2 separate regions of the Homo sapiens genome follow, and region 1 is linked to region 2. Evidence: promoter capture Hi-C in human tissues and cell types (Jung and others, 2019). All regions are on one chromosome and are shown on one strand. Each heading gives the region's core, a stretch centred on a gene start or on the middle of the fragment in contact. The rest is flanking DNA. Distances are from core to core; before and after follow the strand shown.

The links. Contacts are between HindIII fragments. The study calls those that stand out against the background at their distance.
Region 1: a fragment that was not itself captured here is called in contact with the fragment with the promoter of FAM221B in region 2 in 2 of the 25 tissues and cell types used here (dorsolateral prefrontal cortex and mesenchymal stem cells).

The regions. Positions count from the first base shown.
Region 1 is chr9:36,084,399-36,090,369 of GRCh38, reverse strand. It overlaps RECK (reversion inducing cysteine rich protein with kazal motifs), which reads right to left. Exons shown (of 21, transcript NM_021111.3): 9 at 2,409-2,676. Among named protein-coding and RNA genes, the nearest start is that of GLIPR2, 49 kb to the left of the region's middle. The HindIII fragment of the contact is 4,175 bases long and covers 1,136-5,310 here.
Region 2 is chr9:35,825,037-35,830,720 of GRCh38, reverse strand. It overlaps FAM221B (family with sequence similarity 221 member B), which reads left to right and starts at 1,989. Exons shown (of 7, transcript NM_001012446.4): 1 at 1,989-2,258; 2 at 4,560-5,157; 3 at 5,348-5,491. The coding sequence starts at 4,560. TMEM8B (transmembrane protein 8B) reads right to left here and starts at 1,493. Exons shown (of 13, transcript NM_001042590.4): 1 at 766-1,493. The coding sequence starts at 1,273. RefSeq lists enhancers at 401-901, 4,265-4,624 and a silencer at 1,187-1,636. The HindIII fragment of the contact is 23,285 bases long and covers 1-4,347 here.

The sequences.
Region 1 (5,971 bases), core at 1,974-4,473, 260 kb before region 2:
CCCCACCAATGTTTATTGAGTGTCTATTTTGTGTGAGGGCCTGTTGAAAGCACTGGAAATACAATGGTGAATAAAACAGACAAGGTCCCTGCTATCAGTGAGGCTTACACATTATGGGAATAAGGAAGCTGTGATCAAGTTACATCAGGTACCTCGATCTGGAAGCTTTCTTTTTTCTAGTCCTTAACTTTCTTTCTTTTTTGTTTTGTTTTTAGAGACAGAGTCTCACTCTGTCACCCAGTCTGGAGTGCAGTGGCGTGATCTCGGCTGACTGCAGCCTCTGCCTCCTGGGTTCAAGTGATTCTAGTGCCTCAGCCTCCCAAGCAGCTGAGATTATAGGCATCTGCCACCACACCTGGCTAATTTGTGTGTGTGTGTGTGTGTGTGTGTGTGTGTGTGTGTATTTTTAGTAGAGATGGGGTTTTGCCATGTTGACCAGGCTGGTCTGGAACTCTTGACCTCAGGCGATCCATCTGCCTCACCCTGGAATTACAGGCTTGAGTCACTGCATCTGGCTAGTCCTTAACTTTCTATAGGTTGGGTATCCCTCATCTGAAATGCTTGGGACCCAAATTTTGGATTTTTTTTGGATTTTAGAATACTTGTATATACCTAATGAGATATTTTGGGGCTAGGACCCAAGTCTAAACACGACATTCATTTATGTTCATATATACCTTATACACATAGCCTGAAGGTAATCTTATACAGTATTTTAAATAATTTTGTGCATGATACAAAGTTTTGACTGCATTTTGACTGTGACCCATCACATGAGGTCAGGTGTGGAATTTTCCACTTGTGGTGTCATGTCAGCACTCAAAACGTTTCTGATTTTGGAGCATTTTGGATTTCAGATTTTTGGATTAAGGGTGGTCAATCTGTATTTGCCTTGGACAGGTTATTTAACATCTCATAGTTAGTTTATTAAGTGTAAAAGAAAAATTACATAAATTTCTCCAATTATCTCCTAAGGTTTTATGAAGATGAAATCTGATGAAAATGCAAGCCTTCAGCAAACCATAAAACCCTGTATCAAGGTTAGAGAGAAGGAAAAGCCTTCCTTACTGAAGCTCTTTTGGGACAACACGGCCATTCCAACCTCTAGTGACTCTACGTAGGTGTAAACTTTTTTGTGGGCATTCAAAGAAACACTCAGCATCCTTCCCATAAATATATTTATTAACTTCTACAAGCAATCTAATTTCCTTAATTACAAGCCTAATTTAATTTCCCTTTAAGCCTTTTTGTTAATTTTCTTTGGAGATTTTTCACGTCTTTCATTTATTTATTTGGAGACAGAGTCTCGCTCTTTTTCATGTCTTTAATTAATTAATTAATTTATTTTGAGACGGAGTCTTCACTGTGTCACTCAGGCTGGAGTGCAGTGGCGCAATCTCGGCTCACTGCAACCTCTGCCTCCCAGGTCCAAGTGATTCTTCTGCCTCAGCCTCTCAAGTAGCTGGAATTACAGGCATGTGCCACCACGCCCCGCTAAATTTTGTATATTTTTTAGTAGAGACAGGGTTTCACCATATTGGCCAGGCTGGTCTCAAACTCCTGATCTCAGGTGATCCCCTGCCTCAGCCTCCTGAAGTGTTGGGATTACAGGCATGAGCCACCGCGCCCGACCTTCATGTCTTTTAAAAAATTTGCCAAAGTTTGATTGACAATTACCAAAGTCTGATGAGCTATTCTAGGCAAAATTTTTTGCTAAAGGTCCATCCAATTTAGAAACCACAGGAAAGATTGTTTTACGCCTGGTATCTTATATTCATTTCAGGATATCCGAGTAACATGGGGTCCCTTTTTACCCCAAATATCTCTAATAAAGCACATTTCTATTGTACCTGTGTTCTACCATGATCTTAGGTATCTCCATTTGTTTTTGTCTCTAGACTGCAATTCCTACATCCTATATTTGTATTGTTAATTTTTCATCTCTAAGTGTATCACCAAGATGAATGCCAATATGCTACCACCTAACTCTGGTTATAAGTGCTAACCCAGGTTATCCACCAATATAATAAAAAGTTCAAAGTTTCATAATTTAATAAAGAGAATGTCCCTTAGATGTCAGATCAAAACATCTTCTAAACTGTAAGCTTACTTAATGATCTCTATAAGGATAGAATTCATCTATTGCATCATCTTAAATATTTACTACCCTGCCAATGCTAATCCTCCACACCCCAAAACACAGAGCTTTTAGCACTCAATATACAGAACAATGTTTTGTATACGGTACACAATGCTCAATACACATTTGTTGGATGAAATAATATTTTATATTTTCTAAATGCTAAACCTATACCACGTAAGAATATAACACACGTTTGCTAGGCTTAAAATCATTAATTAAAATGCCATTTTCTACTGATTTTGGTAAAGGAAAATGAAATACTAACCTACATGTTGAAGTGTTTGCTTTAGAACAACAATGCAATTTAGCCCCATCGAGGCCTGTAGAGGGAGGAGGGTGTACAGTGACTCCAGGGTGAACAGATTGTGAGCTTTCAAGAAAACATTGCCAAAGAGGATCTTGAGGCAAGGGCTGGGTCTTACAACCCTCGATGAGACCATCAACAATCTCCATTTCCGTTTTCTTGGACATCAGGATTCTCTTGCAGGCATTTTGGCAAGCATGGTCTTCAGCTCTGTCACAGCAATATAAACCTACATTTTCAGAATATAAGTGGCTTAATTAGCTGTTTTTTTTGTTTGTTTTTATTGTACTTTAAGTTCTGGGATACATGTGCAGAATGTGCAGATTTGTTACATAGGTATACACATGCCATGGTGGTTTGCTGAACCCATCAACCTGTCATCTACATTAGGTATTTCTCCTAATGCTATCCCTCCCCTAGCCCCCAACTCCCTGACAGGCCCTGGTGTGTGATGTTCCCCTCCCTGTGTCCATGTGTTCTCATAGTTCAACTCCCACTTATGAGTGAGAACATGCAGTATTTTGTTTTCTGTTCTTGTGTTAGTTTGCTGAGAATGATGGTTTCCAGCTTCATCCATGTCCCTGCAAAGGACATGAACTCATCCTTTTTTATGGCTGCATAGTATTCCATGGTGTAGATGTGCCACATTTTCTTTATTCAGTCTGTCACTGATGGGCATTTGGGTTGGTTCTAAGTCTTTGCTACTGTGAATAGTGCTGCAATAAACATATGTGTGCATGTTTTTTTTTTCTTTTTTTGTCATGCTCTGCTTAGCACAGAACATGGCAGTGTAGTGGAAGCCATTACTACTCTTAGTTATATGTCAGTATTTGCAGAATACAGGCCCTACCAAATTCTCTATTACTTTGCAGTGTAGCAAAAAGGTGAGGAGCTTTAGGTGGACAAGGTATCTATTACCAGAATTCACCACTGTCTCCAATCATGGGATCTTTAGCACCATCCTTACAAAAATGAAAGGCCATCCTACACCTAAGAAGTCCTCACAGGAGAGGTATTTGATATTCCTAGAAAAGGTATTGTAGATGAAACTGGAATTATTTCCTGCTAGAAACAATTACCTAAAAGGGATTATGTTCTTGACATGAGAGAAATGACTAATTTTTATAGCAACAAACACAAACACCATATTGAGAGGTGAAGCCGGCTGGGCCTCTGGGTCAGGTGGGGACTTGGAGAACTTTTCTGGCTAGCTAAAGGTTTGTAAAGGTAGCAATCAGCACTCTGTAAAAATAGACCAATCAGCACTCTGTAAAACGGACCAATCAGCAGATGTGGGCGGGGCCAAATAAGGGAATAAAAGCTGGCCACCCGAGCCAGCAGTGGCAACCTGCTCCAGTCCCTTTCCATGCTGTGGAAGTTTTGTTCTTTCACTCTTCACAATAAATCTTGTTGCTGCTCACTCTTTGGGTCGGCACTACCTTCATGAGCTGTAACACTCACTGCGAAGGTCTGCGGCTTCACTCCTGAAGTCAGCGAGACCACGAACCCACTGGGAGGAACAAACAACTCTGGATGCCACCTTTAAGAGCTGTAACACTCACGCGAAGGTCTGTGGCTTCACTCTTGAAGTCAGCGAGACCAAGAACCCACCGGAAGGAACCAATTCCAGACACAATATTTCATTACATTCCAGGACCACATAAAGCTTTTATATATCTTATGCTAATTAATCTAAGTTGTAACATAAATAGTACAGTAGCGAACTCTGACAAGATATCAGTTTGGCTCTGCCTTTAATTTTCTCAAAGAATCAGAAATAAAAAAACACTTTCAACCATATTACAGAATTCAGAAGGGCTTCTTTGAAGTAGTTTTCTCTGACTTTGGAAGAAATCTGTGCATATCTGTTTGGCGCCTTCTTTTCCAGATTCCTCTGTATTGGCAAAGATGGAGACGGTTGTTCTACCCTTAAAACCTCTTTCTGCTTTTTTATTGAGCTGCCATCTCCTTAGCTCCAGCAGTATCTCGTATAGACTAAATGTCAGAGAGCACAGATCTGCCTTTAAAACAAATGAAGGTTATTGGGGCAATGCTTCATCCTCTGATTTTGACCACACAGCTACACCAAAGGATGTCAAAAGCCATTAGAGTTCTGATTTAGATGGTGGCCAAACAAGGCACACAGTACTGCTACTGAGTTACAAAAAACAAGTCTTTCTTTCTTTTCATCTTTTTTTTTCCCCCCGAGGCAGGGTCTTGCTTTGTTGCCCTGGCTGGAGTGCAGTGAAGTGATGATGGCTCACTGCAACCTTGAACTCTTGGGCTCAAGCGATCCTCCAGCATCAGCCTCCTGAGGAGCTGGGTGTGTCACCACACCCAGCTAATTATTATTATTATTTTTTTGTAGAGCTGGGTTCTCACTTTGTTACCCAGGCTGGTCTCAAACTCTTGGCCTCAAGCAATTCTCCTGCCTCAGCATCACAAAGCGCTGAGATTACAGACATAAGCCACAGAGCCTCTTTCAATATCACAGTGTAAATCAAAACATTGACATCTTATAAATCAGTCTTTGGTCAGTTTGGTCAATCAGTCAGTTTTTATAAATCTGGTCACCTCTAGGTGAAGAAAATGGATTCCAGGATGTACAAAGCGGAGACTCTGAAGAGCCATTTCAGGTGCAGCTTCATCAGGAGGCCCTAATTTTTAAAAGATATCAGGCTCTCTTCTCATTGTTATGACTTTTTAATTACAAAAGTAATAATTGCTCATTGGCAAAAAATTCAAACACTGTGGAAAATATATAAAGTGAAACAATTAGGTATAAACTAAAAATATATCACACTATATTTTTAGTTCTGTGATTTACTTTTTTTTTGCTTAATACATCTTGGACTTCACTATTTTTTAGAGACAGGGTTTTGCTCTGTCACCCAGGCTGGAGTGCAGTGGCACAATAATAATTCACTGCAGCCTTGACCTCCTGGGCTCAAGCCATCTTCCTGTCTCTACCTCTCCAGTAGCTAGGACTACAGCTATGTGCCACCATGCCCAGTTAATTTTTTAATTTTTTGGAGACATAGGGTCTCACTATGTTGTCCAGGCTGGTCTTGAACTTTTGACCTCAGGCAATCCTCCCATCTAGGCCTCCCACAGTGCTAAGGTTACAGGTGTGAGTCACTATGCTGGCCAACTCGGACGGGCCTACCTTCCTTCCTTCCTCCCTCCCTCCCTCCCTTCCTCCCTTCATCCCTTCCTTCCTTCTTCCTTCCTGACGATGTCTGGTCTGTTGCCCAGGCTAGAGTGCTGTGGCACAATCTCGGCTCAATGCAACCTCCACCTCCAAGTTTCAATCAATTCTCCTGCCTCAGCCTCCCGAGTAGCTGGGATTACAGGCATGTGCCACCACACCTGGCTGATTTTTGTATTTTTAGTAGAGACAGGGTTTCAACATGTTGGTCAGGTTGTTCTTGAACTCCTGACCTCAGGTGATCTGCCCACCTCAGCCTCCCAAAGTGCTGGGATTACAGGCGTGAGCCACCGTGCCTGGCCTTTTTGTTTTGTTT
Region 2 (5,684 bases), core at 740-3,239:
TTTGAGCCTTTCCCCACTTGGGTCTATTTTTCTATTAAGTATACATTGCAGTGGATAAAAAAAAACACACTAGTATGAAATAGGAATTAGGAAACCTTTTTTCTAGCCCCAGCACACTGCCATTCACAAGCTCTCTGACTTTGGACAAATTGCTCCCTCCCTGAGCCTCAGTTTCCCCATCTGTAAAATAGCCTCCGAGTTTCAGCCCTGCTCTAAAAGTATCAGGAATTATTCCTAGGCAAATCAATCTTCTTTGGAACAAGAATCATTACAAGAAGAAAACTCATTATAATGGCAACTAATCCATATTCATCTATTTGCTACATATTATCTTTAAAACTCTTCTTCATGCCGTTTGAATGCATGCCCAATATCTCAAAGGTTTGGGCTATATATTCCCACACTACACTAGGGGCTTCTGGTGTGGGACTGTCTCTCCCCCATCAAACTTTGTGAGCAGGAGCAAAGCCCACAACATTTCCCTGGAAAAGCAAGAGTCAAAGTGGGGTCAGGACAGACACCAGAAAAAATCTTGGAGTCTCTGTGCTAGAAACTGTAAGCCACCTGCTGAGCCTCAAACCCAATTAATTACCACTCTTTTGACCCTGCCAATCCCTGTTGTGTAAGACCTCTCTACTCTCTATTTCTCCCACTTGCTCCCCAATGATCTAGTTCCCCAGGTCCCACCTCTCCTGAATCTCTCCAGCCCACCCCTCCCTGCCGGAACCCCATTCCTGCCTCAATCTTCCCTGCTTCTGCACTCACCAGCCCCTGGGCCAAGGACAGAGAACAGCAACAGCAGCAATAGGGCTGGCGGCAGCTGAAACCCAGACTTGAGTCTAGGCTGGGAGAGGGGCAGAGTATGAGAGATAGGGGGGACTAGAGGGAGAGACTTGGGTAAACACAGAGATGAGGGCAAAGGCTGAGATAATGGGTTGGGCTGGGCTGGACACTGGGGCTTGAACAAGGGCAGGGAGTGGGATGGAAGGAAGGGCTGTGATGGGGACTGCAGCAAGGGACGGGGTTGAGCCAGGGCCTTAAGCAAACACTGGGAATGGGGCTGGGACAGGGCCTGGGCTGGGATTTGTGACAGGGGGTGGAACGAGGGCCGAGGCCGGGATGGGGGCCAGGCCAGGGGCAGAGACTGGAAGGGGGTCCTGGATGGGGACCCAGGCAGGGGCTGGGGCCGATGTGGGAAGCGGGGCGAGGGCGGGGCTGGGGGCCAAGGCGGGGATTGGGATAGGACGAGGGGCCGGGACAAGGGCTGGGCCATGGCCCGGGGCGGGGGCGGGGCCGGACAGGCCAGCGCGGGGCGCTCGCAGAGCTGGCCCGCGGCTCCGCTCCCCACCCCCGGGGGGTGGCCTCCGGTGTCCTCGCGGGCCCGGGGCGGGGGCCGGGGACCTGGGTAGGAGTTCAGGCCTGGGCGACTCCGGGCTGCGCTGAACCGGCGATAACCAGGCCCCGCGGCGGCGGCCTCGACTTGACGTCGGCGTGACGCCCCGCCCCCCGGCCGGCTCGATTGGTCCCTGTCAGTAAAGCCCGCCCCCGCCCTACTCTATTGGTCCCCAACTTAGTCCTGCTGGGCTTCGAGGACACACAGACTCCGCCCCCGCCTCAGCTACCCGAGACCCTGCCTTTCTCACCCCAAGCACAGAGCCCGAGGTCCCCTCAGATCCTCACAGCCCCCAACGACCGCCCCACAGATGTCTCAAAGGAACCCTATCCTCACAATCCCAGACTCCCCCGGACGTACGCACAGATCTCCGCAGATCCTACCCAAACACTCGCTCACAGAGATCCCGCAACACACACCCCACTTTTCAGAAGTAAACCCTCTGGGCTCGCCCCCTCGAGGCCCAATGCAAGCCCCTCAGGAGACCTTACCCACCGGGGAGGTGACCAGACCGCCGTTGCCACGGAGACTACTAGGCGTTCCGGTTGCCCTGGTGACCGGCGCCTACTCTCCTGGCCCGGGTTCCGGAGGCTTCAGTCAAGACCCTCCCTCATTGGCCCTAGACCCCTTGTCCCTACCCACTTCCCCAGGTCATGCCAGAGCTCCTTTGCGAAGTTCTGCAGATATCCAAGTCCCCTTCCCAGATAGCAGACTTTCAGGCAAGGCATTTCAACACTCAGCACCTGCAGCTGAGGCACATCCACAACCAAGAGCCTTTCCTCCCTGAGGATCAACACCTCCCCCTGCCATCCTAAGTCAAGGTCTTGACCTAAGGACTTGTAACAACCAAGCCAAAGCCCAGAGGGTAGGTGGTTTCTCCAACGGCCCTTGCCCTCTTCCCTCAAAGACATCTGTCTTTCTCCCACCCCTCAGTCCCTTCACATTGTTGTAGTAGTAGTAGTAGTAGTAGTAGTAGTAGTAGTAGTAGTAGTAGTTGTTGTTGTTGTTGTTGTTGTTGTTGTTGTTGTTGTTGTTTGAGACAGAGTCTCGCTCTGTCCCCCAGGCTGGAGTGCAGTGGTGCGATCTGGGCTCACTGCAACCTCCGCCTCCCAGGTTCAAGTGATTTGCTTGCTTCAGCCTCCCCAGTAGCTGGGACTACAGGCGCCTGCCACCATGCCCAGCTAATTTTTGTATTTTTAGTAGAGACTGGGTTTCACCATGTTGGCCAGGCTGGTCTCGAACTCCTGACCTCAAGTGATCCACCCGCCTTGGCCTCCCAAATTCTGGGATTACTGGCATGAGCCACCATGCCTGGCCCACATTCTGTACTTTTCATCCTTACTCTCCTCCTCCACCCAATTTCCTCCTCCCCTTCTCTTTCCCCTTCCTCACCTCCCATCTTCTGGTTCTCCACTCTTAGGCCCCTTTTCTCTCTAGCTGACTCTGGTCATCTTCCTCCCTGTAATCCTACCTCTGCCCCTAATTCCCTTCCCAAACATCCCCTTCAAAAAGGCTCTGATGCATTTAAGGAGTGATATATCTAGCGTCTCTGGAACATGGGGGTAAAGTAGGGAGCACGGAAAGTTAAGGCAGGAATCCTCAGGCTGTGTTGAAAATGATGACAGGCCTTGAATGCCAGGGCCAAGAAATTTGGACTTAATCCTTTAGACTGAGTCATGGAATGTTTTTAAGCCACAAAGTGCCAGTTGTTGGGCTTGCACTTTAGAAAGATCCTGATTGGGTCAGGAAGGAGGACTACATCCTTGCAGGATAAATTAGGTATATCCCCCTCCCCACCGTATCCTAGACTCACCCCAGAACAACATCAATTTATTTGTATTGCCATTGTTGGTTAATCGGTCTCTCTCCTAGACTCAACTCAATCTAGAGCTTAGCACAGCGGGTCAGTAAAAGCATCAGATTAGGCTCATTGTAAAAGTATAAGTTACATAAATCCATGAAAGAATGGGTGAATGGATTAAAATGCTGTGGATGGAAGTAGAGGGGCAAAGTTATTACACAAAGGCTGAAGATGATGAGAACTTGAATAAAATTGGAAGGGAGAGGAGAGAATGCATTTGGGGAATATTTAGAAGATAGGAAATAGAGTTATTGGTGCCTATTTGAAGATGGAGTCTAAGGGAAAAGGAAAAGACTAGGATAATTCCCAAAGTTCAGTTTTGCTGTCTGTGGAAACACTCAGTTAGAAATGACCAGCAGGGGCCAAGCACGGTGGCTCACTCCTGTAATCTCAGCACTTTGGGAGGCCAAGCAGGGCAGATCACCTGAGGTCAGGAGTTCAAGACCAGCCTGACCAACATGGTGAAACCCCGTCTCTACTAAAAATATAAAACTTAGCCGGGCATGGTGGCACACGCCTGTAATTCCAGCTACTTGGGAGGCTGAGGCAGGAGAATCACTTGAACCCGGGAGGCGGAGGTTGCAGTGAACCGAGATTGCGCCACTGCACTCCAGTCTGGGCAACAGAGCGAGACTCCATCACAAAAAGAGAAGAGAAGAGAAGGCCAGCAGGCAGGTGGGTATGAGTGTGAAGTACAGAGGTTGAAAAAGGTCTGAGCTAGAAATGTGAATTTAGGAGTCATTGGTACACAACTGGAAGTAGTTAAAGCTTTGAACATGAATGACATCATTAAGGGAGGAGGATGTGTGTGGTGCCTAGACAAAACCAGGCTGCGTGCAGTGTCTTGCCTTATGTGACAGCATTCCCCTGCACTCTCAGGAGCCAACCCCAACTTTGGCTTGGTATTGCCAGTCTCTAGAACTCCATGGTCTGACCTCCAGGGTTTTAAGATATGCCAAGGACCCTGCTCTTGGACTGCCCAAGTGGTGTTGTTCAGACTCCCTCCTGGGACATGGTTCTCTGCTACCATCTACTGATGGGATTCGAACTACTTCAGTCTTTCAATCTTTAAGTTCCAGCTCCCTAACAAGCCACAGCAGCATGCCATATGAGGTCTGGACACATGGGTGAACCTTTTGGCATCACACTCTAGGACCCAGAGTTCATGTTGTTTCCCTCTTATATCTCAGCTGCACTGATATCCTTATCCAAATTCCATAATGCACTGCGAACCCTGGGCTCTGCCCTGACTTGCCGGCCCTCTATTTCCAACCTAATGAAGCCTGTACCCTGTTCTACCACTAGATGGAAGCACATGAGATCATAGAAGAGCCTCATATCACCATGGATGCAGAGAAGCACCCCCCTTCAAAGGACCCCTCTGCTGAGGACTTACAGGAGAACCATATCTCTGAAAGCTTCTTGAAGCCTTCCACCTCTGAGACCCCGTTAGAGCCCCATACCTCTGAATCCCCTTTGGTGCCATCCCCTTCCCAGATCCCCTTAGAGGCCCATTCCCCTGAAACCCATCAGGAGCCTTCCATCTCTGAGACTCCTTCAGAGACCCCTACCTATGAGGCTTCATTGGATAGTCCCATCTCAGTGGTGCCAGAGAAACACCTTACTCTTCCTCCCCAATCACGAGACTATGTCTGTCTGTCTTCTTCTGATACTCTGAAGGAAGACCTCTCCTCTGAGTCTTCTTCCAATGAGGTCCCATGGACAAGGAGGTCTACCCATCTCTCTGAATCTGAGAGCCTTCCAGAACACTGTCTTTCAGGCCCTTCATCCCAGGTCCAAGTGGACACAACCGAAAAGCAGGAGGAAGAAGCAGGAGAGGTTGAAAAGGGAGTAGATGCCAGTGACAGCACTGCTCACACAGCCCAACCTGGACACCAACTAGGCAAGAAGAAGAAGAAGAAAGGAGTTAGCTGTAATTGTACCTGTCCTCTCCCCTGTCCTGTTCTCACTACTATTCACTGTCCTTGACTTGCCCCAGGAGGAGGAGACTGGGTTACTCTTGGACATGGCCCCTTCTCTTAGTTTTAGGGCCTTCTCACTTCCCCCTGGTTACTCATCCTCTCCCATCCTAGGTAACACAGCCCGCCCAGTGTTCCCTGCTAGGCAGACAGAGCTGGTGGAAGTGGCTAAGGCAATGCATAGAGAGGAGTTTGGTGCTCAAGTGAACAATCTTTTCCAGTGGGAGAAGGATGCAGCCCTGAATGCCATCCAGACAGGTGAGCCCATGTGGCCTTTCAGAGGCCTGTGACAGGCCCATGGGCATCCTCTAATCCAAAAGATCTGGGAACCTGAACATTCAGCAGATAGCTTCCCCTTTTGGAAATGGCTATACCACCTGCCTGGAAAAGGAGCAGGCAAGTGGGCCAAGGAATACAAGGGTGGATGCAGACAAAAAGTGGGGAGATTCAT